2 separate regions of the Homo sapiens genome follow, and region 1 is linked to region 2. Evidence: promoter capture Hi-C in 16 types of primary human blood cells and fetal thymus (Javierre and others, 2016). All regions are on one chromosome and are shown on one strand. Each heading gives the region's core, a stretch centred on a gene start or on the middle of the fragment in contact. The rest is flanking DNA. Distances are from core to core; before and after follow the strand shown. Region 1 overlaps NARS2 (asparaginyl-tRNA synthetase 2, mitochondrial). Region 2 holds the start of KCTD21 (potassium channel tetramerization domain containing 21).

Region 1 (3,557 bases), core at 380-2,879, 260 kb before region 2:
GTGTATACAATGTGGTATGATTAAATCAAACTAATTAGCAGATCCTTCACCTGACTTATCTATCATTTTTATAGTGAGACATTTGAAATTTACTCTTAGTTATTTTAAAATATATAATATGTATTGTTGACTCTAGTCACCTTGTATGTAATAAATCTCAAAATCTATTCTTCTGCCTGAAATTTTGCACCTTTTGATTAATAACTCATTCCCCTGTCTCCCATTCCTCTGTCCATCTGAAACTTTGTACCCTTTGATCAGCAACTCTTCGTTCCCTTCCTTCCCACTCCAGCCTCTGGTAACCATCATTCTATTATATATTTCTATTCATTCAGCTTATTAGATTCCATATGTAAGTGAAATTATGTGGTATTTGTCTTTCTGTGGTTGGCATATTTCACTTAGCACATTATCCTCTGGATTCATCCATGTGTCACAAGTGACTGGATTTACCCCCTTCTTAAGGCTGAATAGTATTTTATTGTGTATATATATACACAATATTTGTCCATTCATCTGTTGATGGGCACGTAGGTTGTTTCTGTATCTTTACTATTGTGAGTAATGCTGCAGTGAACATTAGAGTGCAGATATCACCACCAATATACTGATTTCTATTCTTCTGGATATATATACCCAGAAGTGGGATTGCTGAGGTGTATGTTCTGTTTTTAGGTTTTTGAGGAACTTCCATACCATTTCTCATAATGACGGTACTAATTTACATTCCCACCAACAGTGTATAAGAGTTCCTTTTCTCTGTATCCTCTCCAAACTTATTTTTCATCTTTTTTATAACAGCCATTCAAAGCTGGGCCTGATGGTGGCATGTACCTATAATCCCAGCTACTTAGGAGGCTGAGGCAGGAGATCGCTTGAACCCAGGAGTTCAAGTCCAGCCTGAGCAACACAGCAAGACCCCATCTCTATTTAAAAATATAAATGTAGGAAGAAAAAAAAAAACACTAACAGGTGTGAAGTGATAACTCAGTGTGGTTTTATTTTTCATTTTCTTAATAATTAGTGATTTTGAGCATTTTTTCTTGCACCTGTTAGTCATTTGTATGTTTGTTTGTTTTTTTTTTGAGAAATGTCTGTTCAGTTCCTTTACCTTTTTTTAATCACGTTATTTTCTTGTTGAGTTGTATGAGTTCCTTATGTATTTTGGGTATTAACCCCTTATAAGATGTATGGTTTGCAAATATTTTCTCCCATTCTTTGAGTTGTCTCTTCACTTTGTTAATTGTTTCCTTTGCTGTGCAGAAACTTTTTAGTTTGATACTGTCTCATTTGTCTGGTTTTGCATTGGTTGTCTGTGCTTTTGGAGTCATCTCCAAAAAAATCATTGCCCAGACTAATGTCATAGAACTTTTTCTCTATATTTATTTCTGGTAGTTTTATGATTTCAGATCTTATATTTAAATCTTTAATCCATTTTGAGTTAATTTTAGAGCTAAACAAGGATGAAATGCTCTGTTTCAAGGATACTGTTTCTCAGGCTTTAAATATTTTCAAGCAGAAGCCAGAGAGCCACTGGTTGACTATTCTTTTCCAAAGTTGATTGCCTATAATTCTAAATTTAACACTCTGGATTGAAGGTAAGAAAAGAACAAAATTTTTACCATGTGTCTCTCAACTCCTATCATATTTTAGCCATATCTAAAAGCAAGACACCAGGAAATAAAGATACCAGACTTCCTCCTTGCTCTGAGGACAGAAGGGATAACTGCAGGGTCCTGATTAGAGCCCAGCCATATTAATTGTGTAGCTGTTCTTGCTCACTCTGATTCAGCCTAGTGATGAGGGTCAGAGCTGATGTTTTTCTCTTTAATCATAGTAATGAGGATAAGGTATACAGCACTGGGGGTACAATCTTGAATTATTCTTTATTGTTGATTATTCATAAAGTATATCTCAATCAAAAGTTTCTAAATCAAAACTGGGAAGGGGATGGCTTAACGGCAAAGTGAGGCAAAGTTTTTAAAATGTTTATAATGTAATGTGACATTTAAAGATTAAAATGTGTTTTATGGATTTCTCATTTTTCATTTGTTACATGAAATCTTAGTTTTTTACCTTCAGGTTCTTGGGCTTAAAAATGTCTACCTGCCCAAAAGACAGGAAAGTCACAAAATAATACAGATAGCAAATAAATATATATATATTTTTTTGAGACAAGGTCTTGCCTGTCGCCTAGACTAGAGTACAGGTGGTATAATCATGGCTGACTGTAACTTCGAACTCCTGGGCTCAAGTGATATTCCTGCCTCAGTTTGACAAGTAGCCGGGACCACAGGCATGCACCACCACACCTAGCTGCAAATAAACATTTTAAAATTATTTTGTAGGGACGGAGTCTTGCTGTGTTGCCCAGGCTGGTCTCAAATTCCTGGCCTCAAGCAGTCCTCCCACCTCAGCTTCCCAAGTAGCCAAGACTACAAGCACATGCCACTGTGCCCAGCCACAAATAAACATTTAAAAAAAATTTTTTTAATTGTTTTTTGGGAGACAGACAAAATCTCGCTTTGTCATCCAGGCTGGAGTACAGTGGCATGATCTTGGCTCACTGCAACCTCCGCCTCATAAGTTCAAGCAATTCTTCGTGCCTCAGCCTCCAGAACAGCTGGGACTACAGGCATGCGCCACTGCACTTGGCTAATTTTTGTATTTTTGGCAGAGAGGGGGTTTCACTAGGTTGGCCAGGCTGGTCTCGAACTCCTGACCTCAGGTGATCCGCCCACCTCGGCCTCCCAAAGTATTGGGATTACAGGCGTAAGCCACCGCACCCGGCCTGAAAAATTAAATATTACTAATTTAATAATTGAAGAAATATAATTAATTTAGTAATACTAATTAGTAATTGAAGAAATACAAATTAAAATATTAAGCTATCATTTTCCCTTACTAAGAGTTTTTTGATGTTTTCTATTATAAAACTATAATACCTGTTTAGTATAGAAAATAAGAAAATACAAATAAAAGAGGAAAACAATTTTAAAATACTTGTAATCTCATCACAGTAGCAACACAACATCTCATTATGTAGATGATAGTCTTTTTTCTATCCATGTCTAAAACTTATCTAATAGTCTGTTGATGTACATTTGAACTTTTTGTCATAAGTAATGCTGTAATAAACATCTTGCATGTTAATCTTTTTTTGCATCTCTGATTTTCTTAGGATAGGTTCCTTGAACTGCTTGCTGAGTCAAAACATATTGCATTTTTCAGGCGTTTGGTTATCTGTTGCCAAATTGCTGACCAGAAAAGTTGTATCAGTTATATGAGCTTATTGGTTTATCCATTCTATAATCTGTATTCTTTATTTTATTTTCCTATATTTTTTCTTTCAGACTTAGTCTTGCAGATATATTATTTTCTTATCACCCTTTTTTTTTTTTTTGTTTTGTTTGAGACAGAGTCTTGCTCTGTCGCCCAGGCTAGAATGCAGTGGTGCAATCTTGGCTCGCTGTGACCTCCACCTCCTGGGTTTAAGCAATTCTCCTGCCTCGGCCTCCCAAGTAGCTGGGATTACAGGCATGCACCACCAAGCCCAG
Region 2 (3,425 bases), core at 294-2,793:
TGGTGTTACTCAACCTCTCCCTGCTCCAGGTCAGAGCAGCCCCTCCCAGCCTCTGCTCAGCACCTAAGAGCTGAGGAGCACATTTCCTCCCCTCTCTGACCCTCGAAGCCAGCCTCCCTCCTTTGACTCCCCTGGGAGCCAGAGCTTCCTTGGGGGTACCAGGCTGCCCCTCCCGACACCAGGTGGTGCCCTCCATCTCTGGCCCCTCAGGTGTCTGAATGGCAGCATCTCTCTAGGTATTTTTTAACTGAACTTCTACCCAAGGCAACCCTGGGAAGAAGTGCTTCACCCTACTCCGGGAGGCCCATGTCTGGGCCACCAAACTGTCTCCTGGAAAGAAAAAGAAAAAAGGGTTTCACTGGTAAAAAGCAGCTGCTCTTCCTCAAAGGATAAGGAGGAGAGAGAAGGGAAGAAAGCAGGAGCAGCTATTCCTCCTCAGGAACCCACCACACACACCTATCCCTGCGGGGCCACCCCTCACAAACCTGTGAGGGCCGCACTCCACCCCAAGCTTTCTGGAAGGAAGGGCACCAAGCTGACACATCAGGGTCTCCGGTTTGCAAGGGCCAGGGCCGTAAGAGGGGGTTGGGGAGGGTATCCCAGGGCCCAGCACACTGAGAATAGGAAAAGCCCATTCCAAGCAATGGTGGCCTCGGGCCCCCCAGTTTGTGCCACCTCCCTCCCTCCAGTGCACCCGCGCCCAGCCCACGCTTGAGCTGGAGGGCCCCACGAAAAGCCAGCAAGCGAATGTACTAGGTACTGGGTGCGAATGCCCTCTTACCTGAAAGGGGAGGGAGCAGGATCACTTCGACATACAATTGATGAAGGGAGGGGATTAATGCCCAGAGAGGAATAGCTACTCGCCCAAGGTCACACAGTGAGGCCCAGGAGGCCCAGGATGCACCCAGATCTCCCGACTCCCAGCCCTGGGCTCGCAAGTCCAGGGTTCTCGAAAGGCCAGGGTGCAGACACCGCCCCCCAAAGACAGTCACACGCCCCCAACCCCCTTACCTCCCGGACCCCGGTGGGCCAGAGCCGGCTGCTGGGCGGGGCGCTCAGGCCGGGCAGGACGAGGCTGGGCCCGGCTAGGTCAGGGCTGGTCCTCTGCTCCCCCCAGGGTGGGGACGCCCTCAGCCAGGTCCCAGACGGAAGAGATGCTGCTTCCACTGCAAAATCCAGTCTTCCCACCCCGCCTGGCACAAGCCTCTATGTATCCAGGAAGCCCGACTCTGCGGCGCGGCCCCGGGGCTGCGGGATGAAGCATGGGGAGGGGCGAGGTGCGTGAAATGGGGCGGAGCCGGAGCGGGGGCCACCCCGCGAGCTGCCACTCTGACCGCGTCCCCTTTAAGGCCAGCCGGCCGGACACCGGCGGGGACGAGGCGGGGCGCAGAGCAACTCGCTGCAATGCCTCCTGGGAGATGGAGTTCGCTCTCGACGCGCCGAGCTGCGAGGAGCCCAGAGAGAACTACCAGTCCCGGAAGGCAGCGCACAGACCCCGGACCGCCACGCCCCTGGGCTGGGCTCCTACCCTCCGCCCCCCTCGCAAAGCTGCGCTGGCCGCTCGCGGAGGGAGAGGCTGCAGAGCGAGGGCAGGAGGTGGGTGCGGCACGGCCGGGGTCGCGGGGCTCGGGGACTACCGGCGAGGGTACGTGGGCCCACTGAGCACCTGTCTTACCATGAGACTAATCTATCCCAGCCTCGCCATTCCCATCTGTGAAATGGGGATGGCATCGCCTGTGGTGCGGGGGAGGGGGCGCGTTTCGGAGCGAGGTGAGCCGAAGTGGGCAGAGCTCTTAGAGGGGCGGGGCTGTTGGGAGAGCAAGGGCGGATGGTGATAGTCGGAAAAGCCCGGATAATGAGGGTCGGGACTGTGGGAGGAGTCCTTGGTGGGTGGGGCAAGGAGAGGCGGGATCTCTAGGTGGGGGTGGGGCACTTGTCAGGTCGGAGTGGGGGCTGTAGGGCTGGGGAGTGGGTGCGGAACAAGCCGATGAGGCCAGCCTGGGTGAGATTGGGGAAGGAAGGGCGGAGACACAGATGACAGGGAACTTGCCCCGCTCTGGAGAGCCCTGGGCCGGCCGCGCTGTGGCGGCGTGGGCAAAAGCCTGTGATGCATAGAACACCTCCCTTTACTGACTGGAAATAAAGAGTCCATCCCCGAGTTCAGTGCGGCACACCAGTGATCTCATTGACCTCCCACGCCCTGAAAAGTAGAGGCGTCACTATAGCGGTTGACAGGTGAGGAATGTGAGGCTCAGAAAAGCGAAGGGACTTGCCTAAAACCACTCAGGACTCCTTACTTCAAAGACCTTGCTTTTCTCCCTGCACTCGGGGAGGCAGAGGTTTAGCTTGGCGTGGGAGGCAGGAAAGAAAAGTTTTGATGCCCCGACCTTCGCAAATTGTCTGGCAGGACCAGTCCCCCCAACCCTTCCGAATGACAGCCTGTAAGGCAGCCCTCCTATAGTACTGTGAGGATGAAATGAGATGGATTTGAAAGCACGGTGTTTATAAATTACTGTTTGGAGGAGACATAGGAAGAGAGCGGTTTGAAATGGGGTGCTGGTGCCGGAGGAAAAGCACAAGGTGAAGCGTGAGAGTGAGCCGAGAAGGTGAAGGAAAGTTCTGGAAGGGGCTGGGGGATGGTAGTGGTTGTTGGAGGTCTACGCCAGATGAAAGAATACCTTGCCGTGCCAGATTCCGTGGTCTCCTTCTTCCAGCCCACCTTTCTCTCCTCCTGCCTTTTGCGCAGCTCATTCTGGGGTCCCTGTGTCTAGGAAGCACCTTTTCTCTCCTCCCTATGGGTTGTGATGGTAATAGAGCAGCCTTCGGATTTCTTAGAGATATGGACTGGGCAAGACAGAATTATAGACGCAGCTCTTTGATGTGGGGTGGTCAGGAAGAGGAGGTGAAGAAAGGGTAGTCGTCCTAGGGGCTTCAAGGCAAAGAGTCCTTTCTCCGGTGGGGTAAGGTGGGGAAGTCTCCCACTTACTGGAAAACACAGTACTCACTCTGAGCATTGTCTTTTTTGAAATTTACCCAGCCACGTGCTGTCCATTCCCTTACGCAGTGGAAACTCTCCTTGCATTTACTCCCAAGTAATCACCTCGGCCTTGTCACATCCCTTTAGATTCCAGATTGAAAATTGAACAGAGCATTTCAAAATTAAAAAGTTTTGAAAATCCAGGTGGGGAAAATGGATCTGACTAAACAGGAGAGAAATTTCTTCCTCTTCCCCTATTCTACGTGCTTCTGTGGATATAGAAAGGGGCACCCCCAGCCCCAGCAAGGGAGCCAGGCATCCATCTACTTAAGTAAAGTTGGCTGTGGTAAGGGGTTAGACTAAAATTCTCCGCAGATGCAGAGGAGAAGGAATGAATTCCAGCTGAGAGACCTGGCCGATGCATGGGATTTGTCTTCAAGGTCCAGGC

What was found. The method cuts DNA at HindIII sites, captures the fragments that hold promoters and counts their contacts. A CHiCAGO score of 5 or more calls a contact.
Region 1: a contact is called between a fragment that was not itself captured here and the fragment with the promoter of KCTD21 in region 2, in 3 of 17 cell types (neutrophils, fetal thymus and monocytes). The highest score is 8.1, in neutrophils.

Annotation. Positions count from the first base shown.
Region 1 is chr11:78,444,574-78,448,130 of GRCh38, reverse strand. The region is part of intron 11 of NARS2 (asparaginyl-tRNA synthetase 2, mitochondrial); the gene reads left to right. Among named protein-coding and RNA genes, the nearest start is that of LINC02728, 17 kb to the right of the region's middle. The HindIII fragment of the contact is 6,277 bases long and covers 1-3,557 here.
Region 2 is chr11:78,186,744-78,190,168 of GRCh38, reverse strand. It overlaps KCTD21 (potassium channel tetramerization domain containing 21), which reads left to right and starts at 1,543. Exons shown (of 2, transcript NM_001029859.3): 1 at 1,543-1,596. It overlaps USP35 (ubiquitin specific peptidase 35), which reads right to left and starts at 1,250. Exons shown (of 11, transcript NM_020798.4): 1 at 1,012-1,250. RefSeq lists silencers at 897-1,056, 1,487-1,826. The HindIII fragment of the contact is 4,363 bases long and covers 514-3,425 here.